Linked DNA regions of Homo sapiens: all the other regions are linked to region 3. Evidence: promoter capture Hi-C in 16 types of primary human blood cells and fetal thymus (Javierre and others, 2016). All regions are on one chromosome and are shown on one strand. The core of a region is centred on a gene start or on the middle of the fragment in contact, and the rest is flanking DNA. Distances in the headings are between cores, read along the strand shown.

Region 1 (6,552 bases), core at 1,964-4,463, 260 kb after region 3:
GAAAGATGCAGATGACTTGTACCAGGGAGGAGCCATGAAAATGTTATGATGCTGGATTTATTTTCAAGATAGAATAAAAAGGCTTTGCTGATAAACTTACAGGTGGGGTGTGAAAAAGGAGGGCATCAAGGGTGACCACAAGGTTTTGGTCCTAAGAAACGGTACAGATGGAGTTGCCACTTACTGAGATGGGGAAAATGAGGGAGAAACCGCTTGTGGAGGCCAGAGGAGGAGCCAGCACAGAATCCAAAGGTCAGTTTTGAATATGTTGGGTTTGAGGAGCTTACTAGAGATTCCCGTGGAGATGTAGAGTAGGCAGGTCAATAATAAGCTTGCAGTCCAGGCAACGGGTCAGGGCTGGAAACACAAGTTATTCTCTTTGTCTTCTTTATATTCATGTTTGTTGCCACTGTGTGTTTCACTTACCTAATGCATTCGTGATTTATTGCTGCATAACAAATTACCACAAACTTAGTGGTTTAAAACAGTACACTTTTCCAGCCTGGGCAACATGATGAAACCCCATCTCTACTGAAAACGCAAAAAATAAAAGATAAAAAATTAGCCCAGCGTGGTGGCACACACCTATAATCCCCGCTACTTGGTAGGCTGAGGCACAAGAATTGCTAGAACCCAGGAAGTGGAGGTTGCAGTGAGCCAAGATTGTGCCACTGCACTCCAGCCTGGGCAACACAGCGAGACTCTGCCTCAAAAATAAATAAATAAATAACAGTACACTTTTATCACTTCAGTTTCTGTGGGTCAGAAGTCCAGGCAGAGCTTAGTGGGCTTCTCTGCTCAGAACTTCACAAAGCAAAAGTATTATTCATGCATGTAAACCTCTAAGCACAATACCAACATCACGGTAGGTTCTATGTGAGTATAAGCTATTATTAAGAATAATAATCAATCCTCTTCCCTCTCCTCCATCCCTAAGGCCTCATCATTTCTTGCCTGGAGTGTCACAGTAGCTTTCTTCCTGGTCTCCTTGTCTTCTACCATCTGATTCTCTAATGAGGACTGGCTATATTGTGTAATCATAGCGTCATCATTCCACAGAATACAATGTAAATGGCACTCTTACTTCCCATCTTCCCTGGCACCTTTCACACTATTGTTTCCAATGTACACATTTTCTCATGCCATTTTTAAAAAAGATTTTCTCTTCACCTTCAAACTAAAACTCCAACTCCACAACAGGCACCAGCTGATACCGAACCTTTCATAATGGAAAATAATGACATTCATAAAGAGTTAATATGTGCAGGTGCTGTGCTAGGTTCTCCCCAAACAACTTAAGAAGCAGGTCACATCCCTACCCATAGCTGAAGAAACAAAGACATTGAGTGAGAAATGAACTTAGGGGTCTCATAGTTTGGAAACTACAAAGTTCAGAGATATGAAGAGTTGGGCTCAGAAACTCCTAATCTGAAGCTTAGCACATTGGCTGCTTCTTTGTGTCAAAGTGACTTGGACCCTCCAGGCAAAGGTGGGATGTTCATTCTTACTAATACGATCTCAAGCAGCACAGCTTCTGATAGAGTCTGAATTTAAAAATAAACAAATGAACAAATAAACAAATATTGATGGATGAATAGGGGTGAACAGCAGGATGGATTTATAATAAAGTAAGAAACTAAAATATTAATTATACAATCTACATGGTAGATATATTGGAATTTACTGAAATTCTTTCACCTTTGCTATATGTTTTAGAAGTTTTATAATAAACTGTTGGGGAGGGGGAAGGGGGAGGGAAAAATTGTGTTTTTCTGTTGATAACAGAGACCAGAAGTACCACTGGCTTAAATAAAACAAGGATTTGTTTTCCTTTCATGAAAAACAAACTTATTTGGAAATTTACCCTGAGTACTAATATATAATAAAATATTTTAAAAGAAAAAATTTTTTAAATAAATTTAGATGGTGACAGTCCAGGGCTGATCTGGCACCTCAGATATGTCATTCATGCCCCAGCCTGCTTCTGACTTCATTCTCTGCTGTCCCAGTGTGTGGCTTCCAACCTCAAGGCTGCCTCATGGTCCCAGGGTGGGCTACTGCACCTCCGGGTCCAAAGTCCATGTTCTAGGCAAGAGGAAGAAGGAAGAAGGGAGAGTGTACCCTCACACTCCCAGCTATTTTGGCCTCCCTTTGAAGGATTTCTGGGAGAAGTACAAGCCCACAACTTTCACCTACAAACCGCTGGCTCCAACTTAGTCCCTTGGCCTGCCCTATCTTCAAGGGGGAAGAGCAGGATGCAGTACCCCAGAAAATTAGGCCTTGTCACTAAGAAGAAGGGGGCATGCACGCTGCAGAAGCAACCAGCCATCTCAAGCAGATACCACACAGCCTAAATTCAAACTGTTGCAATATAATCAAATCCCATCAGCTCCAGTCACATATTAGCTCTAGGAGATTTCTGGCTTGCAGCCCAAAAAAGTGTGTTTTGAGGTCGTAAGCCACAGGGAGAACAAGATTGTCCCATAAACTCCTTACAGAGATGGTGTACAGGAAACGAGCCTTACAGAGACCACAGCCTATGGAGTGTCTAGCTTCAGAGAATATGTACTCCACTGGCAGCGTGAGAAACAAATACCCAAGAAAATACAATATAGCACAAACCAGGAGCTGAGGGTGAATGAAGATGCTCAGAAAGATCTGCAGTAAGAATTTCCTGGGAAAGGTAAAACAATGTCAAGCAGCACTGCCTCTGGAAATCAGAAAAATTATATTATTTGATACCATATCCTAAGCCTAAATGCCAGAAGTTCTTAAAGAGGTGCAGTTTGTCTCATTTTCTTTCCATTCATACCTTTATTAGGCTCTGTAAAAAAGATCCTCCTCTTCTACGTACCTATCTACATGCAAGCAAACTGCCACAGAAGCATCTTAATTAGTGCACATCTTCCTCTCTTTGCACATTAAATTTTTTTACTTTCCTACTCCATTCTGCTAATATTTCTATTACCATGTAAAAGACACGAGACAGGTGAATATAAAGAAATACTTATATACATCCACGCACAAGAATGATTCAAATAGATAAACACAGAAACACAAACACTAAGGGAGGTAGGGCTGGAGTTTTTCCTCAACGTGTACAATTCAATGTACTTTCAGTTTTCATTTCAACGTTCCTCAGTGGTTTCTGCCCAGCAACTGATGAGAAACATCACCTCTGAGCCAATCAAAAAACTAATTCTTCCAAAGAGCGACTCTTACTGTTTCTCATGGTGAGAAGACAATATTTGCTTTCTCTTTTTCCTTTCTTCCGGATGAGAGGCTAAGCCATAATAGAAAGAATGGAGAATTATTGATTGACCGTCTTTATTCTGTGGGCTCTGATTCTCCAATGGGAATACCAAGGGGTAAGTGCAGGAAATTGATTAGAGCCTGGGCTACAACGCATGGGAGGAGCGGGGCTGAATCGCTGAGAGTGGTGAGTGGGCATGCAGGGAGAGTACTCTCCCAGAGAAAGGGGTGCAGTGCCTGTGTGTGTGTGTGTGTGTGTGTGTGTGTGTGTGTGTGTGTGTACATGTGTACATGTGCACACTCGCACATGCACATATGGGCACGTGGGAAGACGGGAGAAGTACTGCAAAGTATAAGGAACTGCAGAGGTTGGGATTTAGTGGAAGGAAAGGGAGACAACATGAATGAAGAAATATTCCAACTGCATGTTCTTAACGTATTGTGGTCAGAAAAGGGCAAACAAACAAACAAACAAAAAACCCTTAAAATCTGTTCTGGCCAACTCAAGGCATCTATTCTGAGAAATTCTGAAGAAGAAGAAGAAAAAAGAGATGTGCCTCATAGATTTATATGTAAATGTGTTTATTACAGAAGTATTTATAATATAGTAAAATCTGAACCAACATACATATTCAACAGGTGGGGAATAGACAAACAATGCATGGTTCAGTCATAAAACATGTTCCATGTAACCATTAGGAATCATAATTTTAATTAAGTGAAATTCTTTATAATTTTAATAACACTGGATCCTTATATTAAACCATTTTTGGTATCTTTTAGGGATAGTACTTGGTTTTCTTTCCATTCATCATTTCCCCAAAACCTAAAGCATGATTTCCCATGGTTACAAGCTACTACATTGTATGAATATATAATTATTGGGAGTCTCTGTGAGCCTACTCTGACTCAGAAAGCCGCTCCTAAAGAAGAAAAAAGAACAAACAAACAAATAAAAAACCCGAATTATTTTTAAAACTCTTTATTTTGGATTTTTCAGTTTCTACATTTTGTTACTGTAGATTTTACTAGATTGAACAGCCTTATCCATAAATATTTGCATCAATCTCTAAATTTTTTTCTTCAACACTAACTTTTATAGTTGGAATTTTGGGGGCAAATAATACAACATTTTAAAGGCACTTGCCATGTGTACATGGCCAAATGCTTCCAGAAACATTTCCACTTCCATTAGCAAAGTATATAACTACAGAGTATTTAAGGTTTTATTCCTTTATATTTTTTTCTTTGGCAAAATTGTCTATAGTAGAAAGAATGAATAATAAATAACCTAAAAAATAAAAGTTCTCCCTCTGAGGACAGCAGAGAAATTTTTAGCTTAGCTTAATAATACCTCCTTCTCCTTAGGAGAATAAAGAGCAGTTTCGAGGAGCAGAAGATGTGGTGAAATATAATGTTTAGTCTGATGGTGGATGCAAGATCCAGGCAGGGGTGGAGCATGACCAGCTGCACAGACCTCTGTTCCCTTGCTTCCTCTACATCTCTCCCCACCTCCATCTGCAGACCTTGTTCTCAGAGGCCATTCCCAGACCCACAGCAGCTGGTATGATGGCTGCAGGCCTCATGCTCCTTTGTTTTGGGAGAAACTGTTGAGGAGTTAGTATTTACTGAGCAGCTAATATGTTCCAGTCACTATTATTCCTCATAATAATTAGTTATTAACTAATACATGAAAATTTTAAACTTAAAGCATTCCAATAATTTTAAAAGTAAAGGAAGCAAAAGGCCAAAGCGTCCTTTCACTCACTTAACCTCCAATTTTCAGTTTAGCATCCATCATTTTAGACTTTTTCAGGCATTTACATATATAGTTATGCAGAAATGTATAGCTTTGCTTTTGTTTTTCAATTGAATCATTAGTATAGTTCTGCAAGGTGCTTTTTAATCACTTAGTATATCTCCATTATCCAGGCTAGTGACATTAAATCACTCTTTTTAACTGCTGCATTGAATTTCCTCCTAGGGATGAGCCATCATTCCTCTAACCAGTCTCTTGTGAGTGGCTGGTTCAGTTGGTAACCACTTTTATACTTTAAAAATAGTGCTGCAGTGTCATTCCCACAGAGGCTTCTCTCTGCACCCATGCGAGTACTTCGCTGAAGTAACCATCAGGAAGTGGAATTGCTGGGCCAATTGTGAACATTCTAAGTCTCATACTCGATATTTTTGAGTAACTAAAGTTGAAATGGTTTTGTCCCATGACTGAGATCATCAAGCTTGTGACTTGTAGAGCCTTTACCTATTGTCTACCCTCTTTGTGTTCCTAACTCTACCATAGTGGGTCCAGCCCATTGTGGGTGCTCAGTAAATATTTGTTGAATAACTTTATGAAGGGAAGAAAGAAAAGATGAGTAAAGCCTGGTCTTATTCAAAGCTCTCCTAATCAATATCTTTGTGATTAAACGTGGTGGGTTCAGCCCCTGACTGACTTCAGAGCCTCTGCCAGGCAGTCTGCCTGGATCCCACCAGGAGCCACCAGGCCATAAGTTGACTGTAGTAATGGCCAAGAGTTTGACGCTTGAGGAGTCCATAGTGTTGGACACCCACAGAGCTGAACAAGGGTGGGACCAGGGAATCCAGTGAAGAGGGTCCTTCATGAATCAGAGGGGGATGATGGAAGCTTGGACCTGGCAAGGGAAGTGTGGGGAAGTGATAGGATTATGAATATTTTAATATTTTAATGCAGTAGAGTCAGAGATGTCCTGATCAGATAACAGATATTATTTTTACAGATGGTTTTCCATACTGGAACCCAAAGGTAAAGACACTCAAGGACAGACATTTTTGGCAGAGGTAAGATCTTCTTCGGTCACCATATTTGAGTTAGCCCTGGGGAAGTGGACATTTCCATGCAGAATCCTAAAGCTTCTTCCAGGCCATAGTGTCTGTCCCACACCTTCTGGTATCTCTTGATATGCAGCATAGATGAAAATGGCAAGTTCCCTGGCTTTCCTTCTGCTCAACTTTCATGTCTCCCTCCTCTTGGTCCAGCTGCTCACTCCTTGCTCAGGTAGGGAATGATTCCATGATTCCACATTTATGTTTCTGAAGCAGACAATTATCTCAATTACCTAATTAAGCAGACAATTACCTAAATGCCCTCTTAGAACCTTTAACTCATTCCCATACCTGGAAGTCCATCCCAACCTGAAGGATCACCTGTCACAAAGAGACAAATGGTCCTTCTGTTAGGATTGTGTTCCCCTCTAGGTTCTCTGTATCTCGCCTTCCCTGTCTGAGAAGGACCCTTCCTCTCATGACCCCAACTCCAAAACCCTC
Region 2 (6,332 bases), core at 1,148-3,647, 350 kb after region 3:
TAGGCAAATTTCTCACGTTTGGTTCTTTTAGAAGCCCAGTATCATTTCTTCTTTTTGAAAAAATGTGTTCTTTTGAGGCAAGATAAATGTACTCGTTAATATTGCTTGTAGTCCTAATATTCAGAAGCTTATGCAACTATTATAATATGTTCAGTGATTCTGTGAGTCAGGAATCTAGAATTTGAACAGGGCAGAGTAGGAATGGATTTTCTGTATGTCAACATGTCTAGGCCTCCCCTGGGAGTACTCCATAGCTGGAGATGACACAGCTATATTACCTTCACAGACTGTAGTTTATTGTAAAGCAAAAGGAAATCAATGCTTACCCTGTATCCTGGTTCTTCCAGGGTTGGCAGGTCCATAAAGAACCTTGCCAACGTGACCCTTCCTGTCTCTATCCCTCCCACTACAGAGCATGATTGGGTTAGGTTGTTACTATCTAACCGGGCACACCCCAGTAGAGCCTGATTTCTTTCTAAGCTACCCCATCGTCAACTGATCCTCTTCCTTCTCAGAACACACACGTTTCCCTCTAGCTCAGATCAACTTTGGCAGAGGCTGAAGCCTGGCTTAGCTGGATGCTTCTGGCAAAAGGGCTACTTCAAAGCCCTGGGCCTTATTTCTTCAGGTAAAAAAATATAAAGTCAGATCTCATCCTGGCTGGCCATGCTGTTAGACCCTTTCATCCTTCTCTTCTGCCTCTTCTCAACAGCTGCCCAGTCCTGTTTGGAATTCATATACATACAGTTCTAATACTGATGTATTTACCCTCATAAGCCACTCAACCCAGAATCTTATTTGAATTATAATCCAGAAACATCAGGTGACGTGTGAGACTACTGTATGAGAAAGAGACAGTTTAAGGGTCAGTCCAATGGAAAAAAGAGTTCTCAGAGCTTTCTTTAGCTTATTCTCATCAAAGAGCTTTCTCTGCAGAAGGAACCTACTGGTTCCTCCTTTCCAGTCCTAGAAATCCTGACCTAGAGTGGCTTAATCCTGCTAGCACCTCTCTCTCGCACTCTGGTGCCAAATGACTCCAGGAACTGGGCCATGATGTGGTGGGAATGACCTTACCCTGAGCATGTCACTCATGCATTGAACAACAGCTAAGAGCAGAGCTTAGAGCTTAGAGCTGGGCCCTGTAAGGTGAGAGGAATCACATCCTGCAGAAGTCTGTCCTGAGAAGCAGGTACTCCTGTCACAGCAGAGACACAGTGGATACCTGAGTAACAATAATACAAGACAGGACGTGGGAACAGCAAAAGATTTGGGTGTCAGAAGAGGCCGAGAACACTTCAGGCAGGAACATTCAGAGTTGTTCTTGGAGGAAGTAGGCACGAAGGCTGGGCAGGATTTCACGGGGCAGAGATGGAGCAAGCAATTGAAATGAAAGCCATGGCATGGGAAAAGGAGCACTGGCCACAGGGAGTGCAACGTTGTGATGCAAGGCCACTGTGGAGCCATTGCTAGCGTATTAACTGCAAAGTTTTGAATTGAATCAGAAGGGAATTGGAGGCCTCCAGACTAAGCATTTAGACACTTGAGGGGAATATTGACAACTGGGCCTCGGGAAGATTATTCTGGAAGATATCTTTACAATTACAAGATTGGAGCCTTTGGGAGAGGGATGATGTTTACGGGAGGATGGTATGTGTGCTAGTGTGTGTGTCTGTGTGTGGCTCTTGGACCCAACCTGACCACCTACTATCTAGAAGGTGAAGGACAACTAGAAAGTTTTGCTCAATTCCATCTTCTGCCACCACCAGAATGCCACCTCCCTGAGGGAAAAGGTTTTTGATCCTCAGTCAGGATTCTCAGCACCTCTTATCCGATAGCTTTGGAATGAATGGCAAGGCCTTCATAACAGCCACTGCAACTGCTGTCTCCTTTCCTTTGCTACCCCTCCCGCTCCAGCCATGCCAGCTTCCCCCAAGCCCTCCTGCGCTCCAGGCCCAACCTCCAAAGCCAGCAACTTGAACAGGAGTCCTCTGGCTTTGGAAAGGGGGCGGCTTACGTTTTCCTGCTCATGTTTCCTCCCCAGCAAAATTGCCCTCTACATAGAGAGGCCTCTCCTTGTGGACACCAGCAAAGCCACCGACCTCAGTGACAAACCCCAGGGAATCTCCCCAAGGAATCTCAAAGCGAGAGAGAGAGAGAGAGTCTTGAGAGAGAAAGAGAGAGAGAGAGAGTCTTGCTTTCGAACAAAGAAAAAGGAAATAAAAAGACCCGATAATCTCAAAAGGTTATTTGCTGCTTGAAATTTGTGATTCGGTGTATTCTACCCAGCAACTGCTGAGAAATAAGGTTCGACACCATTGGCTGGTTCACTCACACCCGGCCAATCCTGGGCTCTAAAATACTTAGGGAACTCTTGGGACTGTGGAAGCCCAGGAGACCAGATTTCGTTTCCTGCATCTCCAAACATGGCGACCTAGGAGAAGGGGAAGAACAATTTTTTCTCCTCTTTTGGGAAGGTTTGTGTCTAGTAGTGCCTGTGCCCCTGGGCAGATTGGAGAGAAGAGGGACGACTGGAGAATCGTCGAGAACCAGCGGAGAAAAGAAAAAGCAACGTTTAATTCTAGAAGGTAGGAAACGGAGGGGAGGCGCTACAGCTCCGGGGTGGGCACAGTAGGTGGGGGAAGCGGGGTCTGCTGTGGACACGAGACGGGGTCCTGGGACAGGGAAAGCCCACCGGTGGGGAGGCGCGGCCTCGCCTGTCTTTGCCTCAGGCTGCCCGGCCTGGGTCGCGGGGAGGAGGAAGTGAAGGGAGGAGGGTGTGGTAGAATCCAGCGACAACTGAAGAAACTGCATTCTGGCCAGAGAAGTGAGCCGAGGAGGGCGGAAAAAGGCCCCCTTGATCTTGGCATTGATGGCTTACTTCATGGAATGTTTAAGGAATCCCTCTCTCGGGACATACCTGAGCCTTCGGATGCAGGGGACTCCCTGAAGTTGGGGCACTGATGAGACCTACTTGAGTGACGGGAGAGGTTGGGCCCGACCAGCACTGAGGTGCCAAGACTCCTAGGCTGATTCTCCTCTGTAACCCTAGGCCTCCTGTCCCTGCCTGCTCTGGGTGCTCATGGAATCAGCTGCTGCCCTGCACTTCTCCCGGCCAGCCTCCCTCCTCCTCCTCCTCCTCAGCCTGTGTGCACTGGTCTCAGGTAGGGATGTGTGCCACTTGCTGCTGTCACCTATCAGAAAGGAACATCAACCCTGTAGTCTGCAAAGGGAAAGAAAGAAGGACTGTGGAGTTGTTGACTTACCCTTTCATTCTGAACATGTTCATTGAATTTATACCAGCACTGTCCAAAAGGAATACAGTGAGGCACAAAGGCCGAGTGCATGTACAATTGCAAATTTTCAAAAAAAATTAAATTTTACTTTTTATTTTAAAAAGTAAAAAGAAACATGAAATAAATTTGTATACTATATTTTGTTTCGCCCCAAATAATCAAATACGAATATTTAAATACTTAGTTAATATACCATATTACCAATGAGATAGTCAACATTTTGAAATTTTAAATCTTCATAATCCTGTGTGTATTTTACACTTACAGCTCATTTCAGTTGGAACTAGCTAGTGGATATGTGTCCTATTGCACGGCTCAAGTTTACAGTACACTCAGGCACAGCACTAGATTGGGAAATCGAGGAAAATCCCCTCAAGGGCACAGGGTGGACAGAGGGTGCTCAGGGCAGGTTCCTCAGGGTTTCCTTCATGAAGCAGAAGCACACTTTATAGTTACTGCTCCCAGGGGTGCTGTCGACTAGCCACAGCTACTGGTCCCCAGATTTCTCAGCCCAAAGAGACCCTATGGCCATGGAAAAAATAAGTTTGTCCCTAGAATATCTGCTTCCTTTCTTGCCTTAGAGATGTGATGGCTGGTGTCTTTGTCTGACTCTACCCCTTTGTTGAACAGCCCAGTTTATTGTCGTGGGGCCCACTGATCCCATCTTGGCCACGGTTGGAGAAAACACTACGTTACGCTGCCATCTGTCACCCGAGAAAAATGCTGAGGACATGGAGGTGCGGTGGTTCCGGTCTCAGTTCTCCCCCGCAGTGTTTGTGTATAAAGGTGGCAGAGAGAGAACAGAGGAGCAGATGGAGGAGTACCGAGGAAGAACCACCTTTGTGAGCAAAGACATCAGCAGGGGCAGCGTGGCCCTGGTCATACACAACATCACAGCCCAGGAAAACGGCACCTACCGCTGTTACTTCCAAGAAGGCAGGTCCTACGATGAGGCCATCCTGCACCTCGTAGTGGCAGGTGCGTCGCTTCATTTTGCTTTGTTACTTTGGCACAGTGTGACTTTGGGGAAAGTTTCTCTCCTAACCTCAGGCCCATTGCAGACCAGCAAATTTTTGTCTGGACTCCCTTTTCCACTCTCCCTGTGGAAACGGAATTCCAGGGAAAAATCCTTCCTCCTGCACAAGGGACACATGAGTGGGTTTGCCCTGCTAAGCTAAGGGCTTCACTTCTTGAGAAGCACATGCAGAATTCAGCTGAGGCCGTGAGCAGGGGAAAATGGTCAGTCTCGGAAGAGAAGTCTTATACCTGCCTTAGGATTGAACTGTGCACTTCTTTTGGGTTTTTTTTTTCTTTTTGAGACAGAGTCTTGCTCTGTTGTACCCTCGCTGGCACGATCTTGTCTCACTGCAACCTCTGCCTCCCAGGTTGCACTTCTGAGAGTGAGAGGAGACACTGTCAATAATTGTTCCAAGACAACTGGAATAAACTGATTACCCAGAGAACTACAACATATCAAATCTTATTTCTTGATAAATATTAATCTTTACTTCATCTTTCCCAAAATGCTGATTGCAGAGAGAGTGACTTATTGTAAATAGATGGTTTTATTAAACCAAGACGAAATACAGAAGCAAAATTATATATAGTTCCTGCTAACTCCATAGAGAAAGACTACGAATTTTGCTGGGAGGTAATAGGGAAGCCTTCCACATAAAAATGCATTTAAACTGGGATTTCTAGGAATTTGTTAAAATGACATTAAGTGATTACTTCAGTTTTGGGGTTAGTGTATTATGCTTTAAAAGATATATTTGGGCTGGGCGTGGTGGCTCATACCTGTAATACGAGCACTTTGGGAGGCAGAGGCAGGTGGATTACTTGAGGCCAGGAGTTCGAGACCAGCCTGGCCAGCATGGTGCAACCCCATCTCTACTAAAAATACAGAAACATTAGCCAGGCTTTGTGGAGTGTGCCTGTAATCTGAGCTTCTTGGGAGGCTGAGGCACAAGAATTGCTTGAACCCAGGAGGCAGAGGTTGCAGGGAGCCGAGATCTTACCACATCACTCCAGCCTGGGCGACAGAGCAAGACTCTGTATCAAAAATTAAACAACAACAAAAAAGATATATTTGAGGACTGAAAAAGCCTTTAAGGTGCAGGATAATCTGTGGTGGCATTTCACTCCATCAGACCAGACAGAGGAGGTGAGGACTAGGGAATTGGGTCTTTCCCTGGGGGCCTCAAATCATAACAGGTAGGAGACCCCATCTTTGCTACACACAAAGGCAACCTTGCATCTGATTAAAGCAGAATATCATGGAAGGAGGGTTTCTTGACCCTGCATCATGACTGTGTTCATAGCAGCACTCCAGGGTTGACCAGTTATGGTTTCTGCGCGGCAGGAATCTGCCATTCTTTGCCTATAAAACTGACAGTGGCCTGGCCTTTCCCACTCTGAATTGGATTGCTTAGGACTTTTTGTTTGTTTGTTCATTGTATTCTCTTTGTTAGGTTGGTTGGTGGCTGATTTTGCCCTTAAATCTATTTTGTCATGCTTGCCTGTATTGAACCTCATAGAATGTTTTGAAGAATTTCGTTTTCCAATTTGCTGAGTTATTTTAATTCTTATTCCACTGAGCCTTTAAATGTACAAGTAGTTTTATCTCTTGATAAAAATTAAAGTGACCCTGGGCCGAGTGCAGTGATTCATGCCTGTAATCCTAGCATTTTGGGAGGCCAAGGCGGGTGGGTCATCCGAGGTCAGGCGCTGGAGACCAGCCTGGCCAACATGGTGAAACCCTGTCTTTACTAAAATTACAAAAAGTATCCAGGCATGGTGGCACATGCCTGTAGTCCCAGCTACTTGGGAGGCTGAGGCCAGAGAATCACTTGAATTCAGGTGGCCTAGGTTGCAATGAGCTGAGATCCTACCATTTCACTCTAGCCTGGGCTACAGAGCAAGACTCTGTCTAAAAAATAAATCAATAAATAAATAAATAAATAAAAATAAGCCTGGGCAACATGGCAAAATCCAGTCTCTACAAAAAGATACAAAAAAAAAGTAGCTGGGCATGGTGGC
Region 3 (6,751 bases), core at 1,210-3,709:
GGTGAGACTATACTTATGCATTTTCTCACCTGTAATATAGCTTAAAAGTATTTCTACTCTGGGATTTCTTTACATTTTACTAAAGCGCAATTATATACTTAAAACTGATAGTGTATGCTGGGCTGCTAGTCATTCTCAACCCTGGCCAATTATCAGAATTGTTTGTTGAATATATAGGTGCCATATATAGGTGCATACACACACACACACACACACATACACACACACACACACACACACACACCATATTTCATTCCTCATATCGAATATTCTGAGAGAGTTAGTTTGTGGAGGGTAGTTCTGGACAATTTATATTTTCATAACACCTCTGGTTATTTTTTTTTAAGTAGAGATGAAGACTTGCTATGTTGCCCAAAATGGTCTTGAACTCCTGAGCTCAAGCGATTCTCCCAACTCAGCCTCCTGAAGTGCTGGGATTACAGCCGTGAGCCACTGCATTAACCTCTGATTAATATCATAGATTAACCTCTGATTAATATCATAGATTTATTTGTTTGAATGCTTCATGTATCCTCTCAACCACAACTTGTTTGCAGAGTTTTAATCTGAAGGGCTTAGGTCTCTTGTTCAATGAATGAGTTTGATCTGATGGGTGAGAGGAAGGTGAAATGGAAAGCGAACGAGAAGCCATACAGATTAGGCGAGTGAGCCTAATCTCTCCCTAACCATAAGATTGAGTATGCCTGAATTCTTCGCAGAGTGGAAGAATCCATTTTAAATATATATATCTACATGTACAGATCCTTTAAATATTTGTTCTGACATTCATTGTTTTTGAGTCACTGTCATTGAGAAAAGTTTAGAAAGGAGATATTAGGAGCAGGAAATAGAAAGTAAATAAAATATCAAAATAAAAATGGGGTTTTATAAATGATATAATAGGCAAAATAAAGGAAAGGCATCCTAGACCTCTGGTTAAAATGAAGATGGCACTTGGCGAGATGTGTTCCAGGGTAGTTCACATGATGTATGTTTTCAGAGAATTGTCATATTGCATATGCTGCTATATTTTTTATTTTCATGAATTAAAAGGCATGTTGAGATTTCAGAGTTTTACTTATGATCTCAGACTCTGCATTTTTTCTCTGTAATGTTTGACATTTCTTCCTAGCTAAGTCTCTAGTTATAAGGTCTGTGTTGTGGCATGTGGACAGTGAGTGGAAGAACCTAAGAACTCAATTTGGGGCAGAAGAATGTAATCAATTATTTCAGAAGTGATACAAACAATATGACATGTAGAGCATTCTGGCCTTTCCTGGGTCTTTTTTCTCCATTCCTGGATTTCTTCTCTTCATGTGAGCAAGTCTGAGGTTACTATATAATGTCTCTCACAGGCCACAGCCCCATTCTAAATATTCCCAATAGAAATTCATTTATTAACCAGAGAGTGGTGGGTGGGGTTGTTTTTGTTTTTTAAACAAAAGTGGATCTTATGGGCATTCTGGAAAGCTCCCGCAGGAAGCTAAGAATAAAATTTTGAATTGAGAAGTCCCTTTCTTCAAACCACATTCAGACCCAATTCTGCTATTCTATTTATTTTTCAAGGGGATTAGCCTTATTTTAACACCAATAATCTTATCACAAAAACCTCCCAGAGGAAGACCCTGTAGATTTTGTAATGACCTTAATCAAGTATTAGCCCTACACTTCAATTAATCCCCAACTGTACAAAACGAATGTTCTTTTCTCTAAAGCTGTAGCAAGTTGAAAGGGGATTAAAAACGGAGGGAAGGGAAGAGTGTTTGGAATTTCAGGCACAGCAAACAGGCACAGCAGACCAGGAAGAGCGTCCCGGGAAAACATATTATCCAGACTTAAGTTTATATTCCCTGTCTCTCTCAGACTTTTGCAGAAAAATGAGTCATTCAACAAATATTTGAATCGAGATAGGGAAAGTGACGAGGAAGAAGTTTGCACTTATGAGGTTTTAATTTGCAATTATTTGGCTACCTTTTTGCCTTCCCAAAACATAGGGTCTTTAGGAGTGAAACTTCATAGCCAAACTTATACCTTGTCCAGCACAGAGAAGGCCATCAAAATGCCTGGTTTAAATAAAAATATTAAAATGATTGGGAGGGTAAATCCCTTGACCTATAAATCTGACCTCCTTTAAACATTATTTGTATGTTCCCCAATAAACTATTCCGTAATTTATTAGTTAGCAAGTGGAAATAAAAAGAAATGTGGAATGGGGCTATGCTTAGCGTCATTAAGCTGACAGGAATACAGCGCATTCAACTTGCAAACACCCTTCCACTCCCACAAAGAGCAAGCTGTCACTGGCCAATCAAAACAATGAACCATAATGAAACAGTTTTTCTTGCTCCACCCACTTGGTGACCAAATTTGAAAAAAAAAAAAAACCGCGCCAACTCATGTTGTTTTCAATCAGGTCCGCCAAGTTTGTATTTAAGGAACTGTTTCAGTTCATACCTTCCACTGCGATAGGAATCATGTCTGGTCGCGGCAAAGGCGGAAAAGGCTTGGGGAAGGGTGGTGCTAAGCGCCATCGTAAGGTGCTCCGGGATAACATCCAGGGCATTACAAAACCGGCTATTCGCCGTTTGGCTCGGCGCGGTGGCGTCAAGCGCATTTCCGGTCTTATCTATGAGGAGACTCGAGGTGTGCTTAAGGTTTTCTTAGAGAACGTTATTCGAGACGCCGTCACCTATACGGAGCACGCCAAGCGCAAAACTGTCACAGCCATGGATGTAGTATATGCCCTAAAACGTCAGGGGCGCACTCTGTATGGCTTCGGCGGCTGAATCTAAGAATACGCGGTCTCCTGAGAACTTCAAAAAACAAAAACAAAAAAACCCAAAGGCCCTTTTCAGGGCCGCTCACAAAGTCGTTTAAAGAGCTGAAATGCGTTGCGAGAATGAGTTTGGATGACAGAAATAACCGTGACATCCTGCATAAGAATGAATTGTGTTTGCCATGACCGGCCACACTGTGACAAAATTTCAAAGCATAAAGTAGGCATAGAGAGGTAAGCGCTAATAAAGTGATTGGCTCCACAAAAAGCATTTTGCTGGGCGCAGTGGCTCACGACTGTAATCCCAGCACTTTGGGAGGCCAAAGCTAGTGTATCACTTGAGATCAAGAATCCGAGACCAGCCTGGCCAAAATGGTGAAACCCCCTCTACCAAAAAAAATACAAAACTTAGCCGGGCGTGGTGGTCTGCACCTGTAGGCCCAGCTAGCCCGGAAGCAGAGATTGCAGTGAGCCGAGATCGCGCCACTCCCCTCCAGCCTGGGAGACAGAGAGAGACTCCTCAAAAAAAAAAAAAAAAAAAAAAAAAAAAATTATGTATTTTAGAGCATTCTAAGAATGGTACTTTGGACTTAACCGAAGGGCTGGAGGCGCGTGTTGAACAAAGGTTATCACCTTTTGGCTCATGCGGCACACAGCTATGTAAATAAAGCATCTTTAGGGACAAGCTCTCATTTGCGGAGGGTTCTATGGCTGTTGTCCTATTGGCCAAAACAAAGTGGTCTAAGTCCGGGCGCGGTGGCTCACGCCTGTATTCCCAGCAGTTTGGTAGGCCAAGGTGGGTGGATCACGAGGTCTGGCGTTCAAGACCAGCCTGGCCAAGATGGTGAAACCCCGTCTACTAAAAATACAAAAATTAGCCGGGCGTGGTGGCGGGCACCTGTAATCCCAGCTACGTGGGAGGCTGAGCCAGAGAACTGCTTGAACCCAGGAGGCAGAGGTTGCAGTGAACCGAGATTGTGCCACTGCACTCTAGCCTGGGTGACAGAGCGAGGCTCCATCCAAAACAAAACAAAACAAAAAAGTGGTCTAATAATCCCCAGAACTGGAGGAAGAACCATAACTTATTGATTTTGTTTTTAACCTTATGTATGCCAGGCATGCTAGCCTTGTATACATACAAGGCTAGAGGAGCAAAGGTGCAGGAAGCCATCTTGAGGGAGTCCCATATTATTGAGAGACCGGCCAGCTGCTGGGAGAGGCTAGTTGTTCATCCTCACTGTATGTGATGAGAATCTGGTGACAGTCCATTGCTGGGCACAGCATTTAGGCAAAATGGCTCTCTGCTATGTCAGGCAAGTGAGGCATATTTTTGCACAATCCTAGTAATTCCGAACTCATTGGGAAACAATGGCAATTACATCCAAGCAAGGAAAGGTCTGTGGTTGATTTTATCTATACAAATTTAAAACATAATGTTTACAACCTTTCATTATAGGACACAATTTTTAAAAAGATGCCAAACTATACAAATAAGTTCAGAAAAGTGAGGTACTATTGAACCGTCTGGAAAACATAAATGTATGTGAAATAATGCAATGCATAGTTTTGCAGGGGACTTTGTTCAAAGTTTCTCGAAATACCATGGTCCAAAGTAGACTAACATTAGCATTGGTTATTTATGATGATCAGTAAGAATACTAAATCAAAAATCAAAGGAAAATTAAACTATGTCTGTTTAAAGAGAAACGTAGTTTACCTCAGACTGAGAGTTAAAACAAGTTTGTGATTCAGGAAGGTGGAATTCAGAACCTAATTGGGCAGCCTCCAACATTTCCATTAAGGTTTGGATTCTTAAAATTTTTCAGTCTTCGGTATGCTCTGGTAGTCTGATGAAACTTACAGATTCTTTTCATAAATAAGATACTTAAAGTAATTCATAGGGTTACAATTGTATTAGACCAATAATATTAAAATAATTATCAAACCACTTGACCGTAATATGTGTGTTTTTGTTGATATACCTAATAGTACTTCGGAAATAAGCAAGCACGATTTCCAGATTCTTGCAACAACTATAACCTACAAATTTGTTATTTCTATCAGTCACACACAATGGAAGAAAATTCTAAATTTCAGCTACAGGATAATGAATAGATGAAAAACAACAACAACAACAACAACAAAAAAACTCCCCTAATCCATATTCTGGGACACCTTGATTCCTATTTATTGATCCCTTGAAGTCAGTGGATAGCATATTAAGAAACAATAGTTACAATGACACCACAGAAAGACTAGAATGTAGTACTTGTGTTAAAAAAAAAAAAAGTATCAGCAAGTTATGTTTGGATGCCAAATTGCTCTCCACTTCCCTTCCCTGACACTGGCATTTCCAGAACTTAGATGCTCTTACATGTAAAAGCCTCCTCTAGTGCACCATCGAGCTTTTCAGGATTGGACATCAGACTTTTTAGTTCCTGGACCTCTAGATATACGGCAGTCTCTGACAAGAAGCCCTTTTTCTGTTTTAACTTTTTTTTTTTTTAAGTTTTGAGACAACGTCTGACTCGCTGTCACCCAGGCTGGAGTGAGGTAGCACCATCATAGCTCACTGTATCCTTAAACGCCTGGGTGCAGGGACTAAGGGAGCGTGCCAACCATGCTTGACTAATTTACTTTTTTGTAAAACCAGTAGTCTCCAACCTTTTTGACACAAGAGACCGTTTTGTGTAAGACAATTATACCACGGACCAGGGGGTGCAGGGGCTGGGAGCAATGATTTCCGGACTAAAACTGCTCCAACCTCAGATCATCAGGCATTAGATTGTCACAAGGAGCCTGAAACCTAGATCCCTTGCATGTGCCATTCACAATACAGTTTGAGCTTATGAGAATCTATCTAATGCTGCAGCTAACCTGACAGGCGGTGGAGCTCAGTTGGTTAATGTTCGCTCACCCCTCAGCTGTGCGGCTCAATTCATAACGTGCCATGGACAGGGACCGGTTACCGGTCGGTGGCCGGGGAAATGAGGACCCCTGGTATAGATGGTAGTCTGGCTATGTTGCCCAGGATGGTCTTGAAGCCTGGCCTGAATTAATTCTCCAATCTCAAGCCTTTTCAACTCAGCTGCATCACAACTTAAACCTATAGATAACTGTCACAGAAACTTGTTTCCAGTGTTACGCCATCTTAAAATAATGTGGGTGGCTCTTAAAAGAGCCTTTGGGTTCTTTCCAAATTGGCCTCCCGGAAAGCTCTTTACTTCTTAGATGTGGCCTTTCTAACATTAACTTCATGATGTTGGGTCAATTTTGACTTCGAAGCCCTTGCCTTCACTGGGCTCTTCTGCTGTTGCTTACCCTTGGCTCCTTTAGCCTTTCTCCCGCTCCTAACAGTTTTAGGAGTTGTCGCTCTCGGCTTCTTGGCTCTCTTATTGGTTTTAGCAGTCTTTGGTGACTTGGAGTCCCTGGATAAAACCAGCTTCTTGGTCTTGGCAGAAACTGACTTTTTAGCCTTGCTTCTGGTAGATTTAGGAATCACCTTCTTACTAAGCTTAAAGGAACCGGAAGCACCAGTACCCCTGGTTTGCACCAGGATTCCCTTGTTCACTAAGCTCTTGAGGGACAGTTTGATGCGGCTGTTATTCTTCTCTACGTCGTAGCCAGCAGCGGCCAATGCCTTCTTGAGCGCAACCAAAGACATACCTACTCGTTCCTGTGACACTGAAAGGGCCTCGGTGATCAACTTGGACACAGAGAGGTTCGGCACTTTGCGACTTGCACTTATCAAGCCAGCCGGCTTCCTCCCTCGCTTCTTGGTTGGAAGTTTCTCCATAGCGGCTACACCAGCACTGGCAGAAGCTGCAGGCACGGTTTCAGACATAACAACAGAGAAACGCAAGATGTAATAACCAGCGAAAAGCATGAAACACCCGGGCGGCCTCGGGGCCTTATATAGGGTAGGGCGCGCTGTGATTGGTGCATCACCTAGGCACCGCCCCCGCCCCTTGGAGG
Region 4 (6,161 bases), core at 1,420-3,919, 460 kb after region 3:
TGGTGAAACCCTGTCTCTACTAAAAATACAAAAATTAGCTGGGCGCGGTGGCGGGCGCTTGTAATCCCAGCTACTAGGGAGGCTGAGGCAGAAGAATTGCTTGAACCTGGGAGGCGGAGGTTGCAGTGAGCCAAGATCGGGCCACTGCACCACTCCAGTCTGGGTGACTGAGCAAGACTCCGTCTCAGGGGAAAAAAAAAAGTGATTCTGATCAATCGCTTCTTCAAAATTCCTAACTAAGCATGGGCAACATAGTGAGACCTATGACTCAACATACTGAGTCTCTACAAAAATACAAAAACAAAATAAACCAGCCCATTAGCTGGGCATGATGATATGTGCCTTAATCCCAGCTGCTCAGGTGGCTGAGGGGAGATGATCCCTTGAGCCTAGGAGTTCAAGACTTTAGTGAGCTTTGATCCCACCGCTGCACCCCAGCCTGGACCACTGCACCCCAGCATCAACAACAGAGTGTGACCCTGTCTCGAAAAAAAAAATCCTCTGTAAGGACTATAACTCCATCTAGGAGGCTTTCCTTAATTAATCTCAACCAAATCTGATCTCTTACATAGTCTAAATTCTTGTGTACTTAGCTTTTTTTGTGGTACTGTTTGGGACTTGTTTTAATGATTACATTATTACTCGTATGCTTCCTATGGTGTTATTCTTGAATTTTTTATACTCTAATTTCACTAAAGATAAGGCCCAGCGAAAAGGCTTTCAAAGTACTCTCTGTGGGTTCCCCTGTTTGAGCCTGTGGGAGTAAGGCAGTGGACAGCACACTCTGAGAACTGTGCGTTACAAATTCTATTTAATTTGATATTCACAACTATCCCCTTAGGATCTGTATTACCTTCATTATCATCATCTCCATTTTGTATAAGGCATGAGGAAGTTAGGGAAGTCATACTACTAGTGAGACATAGATTCAAAGGTGGACTAAGTGGCTCCAATACCTCTCTGTGTTCTTTCCATTACATCATACATACGAGTAAATAGCCTGTCCATGTTGCTGTAACTTCTACTACCAAAATTCATTATTTACTTTTAAATTGTGTTCAAAAGGGTCTATGTATACAATTAGTTCAATACATATTTACTTTTTAGGAAGCATTACAGTACAGTTACTGTTGAAACACATGCCACAGAAATTGGTTCTTCACTCACTCCCGAGGGACCCAAGCAGCCTCCACTTGGGGTTCTTCCGGCGTTATCTGGCGCTGCTGCACCACGTCCTCCCCTACACGTGGAGGTCGGTGGTGCGATTTCCTCACCCTCAAGGGACTCAAGGGACCACGCGCTCGCAAAGAACCCAGGGCCTCTTCCATCAGCTCGCAGCAGGTACGCAGTAAACCTTTACCGAATGAATGAATGGAAATCAAATCTGCGAATTAACTGCATGTTAGTTTGCCACATGGGCTGCATTTTAAAATTTTATTTATTTATTTACTTATTTTTATTTATTTTTTTTGAGACGGAGTCTCGCTCCGTCGCCCAGGCTGGAGTGCAGCGGCGCGATCTCGGCTCACTGCAAGCCCCGCCTCCCAGGTTCGCGCCATTTTCCTGTCTCAGCCTCCCGAGTAGCTAGGACTACAGGCGCCCGCCACCATGCCCGGCTGTATTTTTAGTAGAGACGGGGTTTCACCATGTTAGCCGGGATGGTCTCGATCTCCTGACCTCGTGATCCGCCCGCCTCGGCCTCCCAAAGTGCTGGGATTACAGGCGTGAGCCACCGCGCCCGGGGGGAACTTCTTTTAATGGTGCCAATCTTATGGACCTCAGACACCTCTCAGTGAGAACTTGCTGGCATTTTGTGTGGAGAACAGAACCGAGGGGACCAATCTGGACAAGGGGAGCCAATTAGAAAACTGCAGGCCCAGGATTATCTTATTTTCATTCTCTAGAGCAGAGTTTCAATAGAGCGCTATTGACATTTTGGACTAGATATTATAATTCTTTGTTGTGGGGGCTGTTCTATGCATTACAGGATGTTTACTAGCATTCCTGTTCTTTACCTACTACATTCCTCAGTCACAACAATTTACCTACTATATTCCTCAGTCACAACAATTAAAAATGTCTTCTTACATTGTCAGATGACCGTTGTGAAGGCAAAATTGCTCCATTAGAGAAATTACTGCTCCACGAGTATGTACCATTGTTTTGGCTTACTATTTATTTTTGAGACAGGGTCTGGCTCTGTCGCTCAGGCTGCAGTGCAGTGACGTGACACAATCATAGCTCACTGTGGCCTCACACTCTTTGGCTCATGGGATCCTCCCTCCTCAGCCAGTCCCAGTAGCTGGGACTACAGGCCCCCGACCACTACGACCCGCTAATTTTTGTATTTTTTGTAGAAACAGGGTTTCACCATGTTGGCCATGGCTGATCTCGAACTCCTGGTCTCAAGAGACTTAGCTGCCTCAGGCTCCCAAACTGCTGAGATTACAGGCCTGAGCCACCAAGCCCGGCCTAGTTTACTATTTATTGATTAGGGTAGTTTTTCAGCTTTGTAAGGGAACGTCGTGATGTGGTGATGCAAATGAACTTCGTCTGATATTTAGTTATTTTCCGTCCTGTAGAAACAGTACAGTTTTATTGTCCTGTAAGGCAGTTTCCAGTTCTCTACCTCACTTAGCAATGTTAATTTACAGCATTGCTTCTTTCAGTGACTATCAATAAATTCTTCGATCCAGTTTTACCAGTTTTACCATCTTGATGATTCCCTCATTAGTGAATTAAACCTTTGACAAGTGTTTATTTCATATTCGTATATGAATCATGCATTTAACCGTTTGAAAAGTGTATTTTGACCAAATGTATAAAAGTAAATACATCTGTGAAATAGGATAACTTATTCAGGCAATTGAGGTTGGAGAGGAGATAAAACATTACATTTAATTCATCGAGACTCGCCCCACTCAAATAAATGTTTCATGGACTTGAGGAGATTAATGGCCAAGTTAAATGTACTTTCAATTTTTGTTCAGAAAAGAAAAAAAAAATCTGTGTGCCATAAAGGAGTGAACATTGGGCTCAATGGCCTACTTGCACAAGAAGGATCATTTGCCCTGTGCATGTTTCATTATATGACAAGGTAATTATCTTTAATGGAACATGAAAAAGAATGAAACAGATTTTTTTTTCTCTTTTCTTTTTTTTTTTTTTTTTTTTTTTTTTGAGACGGAGTCTTGCTCTGTGGAGTGGCTGGAGTGCGGTGGCAACATATCTGCTCACTGCAACCTCTGCCTCCTAGGTTGCAGTGATTCTCCTGCCTCGGCCTCCCGAGTAGCTGGGATTACAGGCGCCCACCACCACCACGCCCGGCTGATTCTTGTAGTTTTAACAGAGACAGGGGTGTCACCATTTTGGCCAGGTTGGTCTCGAACTCCTGACCTCAGGTGATCTCCCCGTCTCGGCCTGCTGAAGTCCTGGGATTACAGAGGTAAGTCACCGCGCCGGGCCATAATGAAACAGATTTCGGATGCCAGATTCCACCACAAGTGGATTTTTTCATTAACAAGGGAGGATAATAGCTATTCTGAGCTTCAGAGTCATAGAAAGCTAGACAAGAATCTTACACTTTGCAAAACTAATATTTGAAATGATATTACCTTGTGTTAATCATTTAAAAATGTATCATTTTAGCACACCCATGGATAGGTTTTTGCTGAGTTAAGAATTAATGTGATGGCCAGCTGCTGTGGGCTCACGCCTATGATCCTAGGGCTTTAGAAGGCCAAAACGGGCGGATCACTTGAGGCCAAGAGTTCGAGACCAGCCTGGCCAACATGGCAAAAATCACAACTCTACTAAAAATATAAAAATTAGGCGGGCGTGGTGGCTTGCGTTTGTAATCCCAGCTGCTCGAAGGCTGAGGCGGGAGAACGGGAGAATCGCTCGAACCTGGGAAGCGGAGGTTGCAGTGAGCCGATATCGCGCCACTGCACTCCAGCCCAGGCGACAGAGCGAGACTCTGTCTCAAAAAAAAAAAAAAAATTATTATGCTTTCGAAGTTGCATTATTTAGCCTGCTCTTCCTTCTCTTCCTCCTGTCAGTTATCTCAATAAAATCCCATTAAAATTGCATTGTTAAAGTGTTTCAAATTCTATTTTTAGGTAGAGGTTAAAATTGGTTATATAATGCATTCATCACAACAAAAGATGGTCATTGCTAAATTCTTATCAGTTCCTTGTGCCTCCTTAACATTTTATGTTTCTTTTTGTAAACTAGTGAGGGTGGTGCTCCCGTTTTCTCCCTGTTTCAGAGAAAAGGGCCTCTGAATATCAGTCAGTTCCGAAGGGGTAGTGGATGTCAAAAGAACATCAACGACGCAGGTAAACAGGACGACAAGCATCCACGATTGCCCAACCTTCCGCAGAGATGGCATCCCCAGCGGGAAGTGAAAGTCGTGTGAATCCTTCGATAGCTCAGTTGGTAGAGCGGAGGACTGTAGTTGGCTGTGTCCTTAGACATCCTTAGGTCGCTGGTTCGAATCCGGCTCGAAGGAGTTCACAATTTTTTTTTTTTGCGTAAGTTTTAAAATTCATTCTCAGAAATGCGTATTTCACTTATACATATCCTCGATAAGAATCTATTTAAAACTATTCTGGATGTGCAGTGAATCTCTTTAATTTTTTATTATTCTCCGTAACAATTTTTAACACGCGCCATCAAGACTTCATCCCTATAATTCGTATAATCCAACCCTCTTAGAAGCCCTGGGCACTGAGGAAGTGAATCAGACACTGGTCCACTGGGCTAGAGATCCACAGAGGCGTCTCCACCCCTCAACCCCGGATCCACAGCCGGGGGAAAGGGGCGGCTGGTGGGAATTACTCGGAGCAACTGGTAATTGGTGGGGCACGCGCGTGCCCTGGTGTTCAGAGTTCTGAATCGTTGCGAGTCAGTTACAAGCTGAACCACTAGCGTCTGAACCCTATACATCTGAAGCCGGGATGAAATTCAGGAGTTCTATTCCCCCTTCTCCTTTTAATTGTCATGGTGGTGTCTTTCGACCCTAGCAGAGAATATGTGGTCGATATTAGAATCACCTGGGGAGATTTTACAAAGCATCTATGCTTGGGTTTCTTTGGAGGTAAGATTCAGGTATTGTAGTTTCAAAAGCTCACCAGCTGACTTTCCTGTACTGCAAGTTTTGAAAAACACTGGTAGAAGAGAATCATTTTAGGAGAAAATAGTACATAAGGGAAAAAATGGACAGGATTTCCTACCCACATAGGGAATTAGCTCACAAAGTAGAGATCTGGCATAACAGTGGTACATATTTGCTAATTTTGTGCCAATCTAATTACAATATATTAATCCCATTGTACCCTTTTGTGTCTCAAAAATGTGATCCCAGATACCTATGGAAGAGTTCTTAATGACAAATATCTTTGTCTAGATCAAAGTAAGGAAGCGTTTTCTGAGGATTTTGTGCCTGGTAATTTCTTGTATGTTCCTTCCCATGTTTCCAAACTTTTATTCTTTATGAAAATAATTCTCAAACTTGGATATCAGAACCACCTGGAAAACTAACAAAAAACACAGAAGCCCAGGCTTATTGAATTAGGGTGGTGGTTGGAGAGCCCTGCCCAAAACGCATTGGAAGCCACTCCTATTAAGGGCTGGAGATGGATCTAAACTGATAGCTCCCCCATGAACTTGCTTTTTGAAAGCTGGTTGGGGGCAAAAGAAAAATGGCCTTTTGTTTGTGGTTTTTTGAGACGGAGTCTCGCTCTGTCGCCCAGCCTGGAGTGCAGTGGCTCCATCTCAGCTCACTGCAACCTCCACCTTCCGGATTCGAGAGATTCTCCCGCCTCAGTCTCCCGAGTAGCTAGGATTACAGGCGTCCGCCACCACGCCGGGCTAATTTTTGTGTTTGTGGTAGAAACGGGGTTTCACCATGTTGGCCAGGCTGGTCTGGAACTCCTGACTTCAGTTGATCCACCAACCTCGGCCTCCCAAAGTGCTGGAATTTCAGGCGCAAGCCACCGCACCCAGCCAGAAAACAAAACAAAACAAAACAAAACAAATAGGTATTTTCAAAGGTAATGTTTGGGGCTTGAATGCAACATTTGTTAAATAGTCCTGGACTAAGCTTCTTGCCAAGGCACAATAGATTTCAGTCCAGATAGATTCTCTGTCACAATTCTCCT

Evidence for each region. The method cuts DNA at HindIII sites, captures the fragments that hold promoters and counts their contacts. A CHiCAGO score of 5 or more calls a contact.
Region 1: a contact is called between the fragment with the promoter of BTN3A2 here and the fragment with the promoter of H4C3 in region 3, in 2 of 17 cell types (naive CD8 T cells and monocytes). The highest score is 6.3, in naive CD8 T cells.
Region 2: the fragment with the promoter of BTN2A1 here is called in contact with the fragment with the promoter of H4C3 in region 3 in 1 of 17 cell types (neutrophils); the score reaches 5.1 in neutrophils.
Region 4: a contact is called between a fragment that was not itself captured here and the fragment with the promoter of H4C3 in region 3, in 1 of 17 cell types (neutrophils). The highest score is 5.6, in neutrophils.

What each region holds. Positions count from the first base shown.
Region 1 is chr6:26,361,985-26,368,536 of GRCh38, forward strand. BTN3A2 (butyrophilin subfamily 3 member A2) reads left to right here and starts at 3,214. Exons shown (of 11, transcript NM_007047.5): 1 at 3,214-3,368; 2 at 6,006-6,066; 3 at 6,194-6,283. The coding sequence starts at 6,199. RefSeq lists an enhancer at 3,172-3,221. The HindIII fragment of the contact is 4,055 bases long and covers 1,433-5,487 here.
Region 2 is chr6:26,455,558-26,461,889 of GRCh38, forward strand. It overlaps BTN2A1 (butyrophilin subfamily 2 member A1), which reads left to right and starts at 2,398. Exons shown (of 8, transcript NM_007049.5): 1 at 2,398-2,585; 2 at 3,050-3,161; 3 at 3,924-4,271. The coding sequence starts at 3,080. RefSeq lists enhancers at 2,009-2,268, 2,429-2,588. The HindIII fragment of the contact is 11,033 bases long and covers 126-6,332 here.
Region 3 is chr6:26,101,474-26,108,224 of GRCh38, forward strand. H4C3 (H4 clustered histone 3) reads left to right here and starts at 2,460. Exons shown (of 1, transcript NM_003542.4): 1 at 2,460-2,864. The coding sequence starts at 2,475. The coding sequence ends at 2,786. H1-6 (H1.6 linker histone, cluster member) reads right to left here and starts at 6,662. Exons shown (of 1, transcript NM_005323.4): 1 at 5,939-6,662. The coding sequence starts at 6,620. The coding sequence ends at 5,997. RefSeq lists enhancers at 1,998-2,107, 2,132-2,822. The HindIII fragment of the contact is 10,429 bases long and covers 1-6,288 here.
Region 4 is chr6:26,564,439-26,570,599 of GRCh38, forward strand. TRY-GTA1-1 (tRNA-Tyr (anticodon GTA) 1-1) reads left to right here and starts at 4,420; the gene lies at 4,420-4,510. LOC105374988 (a long non-coding RNA gene) reads left to right here and starts at 4,886. Exons shown (of 2, transcript NR_134611.1): 1 at 4,886-5,098. RefSeq lists an enhancer at 4,962-5,091. The HindIII fragment of the contact is 6,863 bases long and covers 1-6,101 here.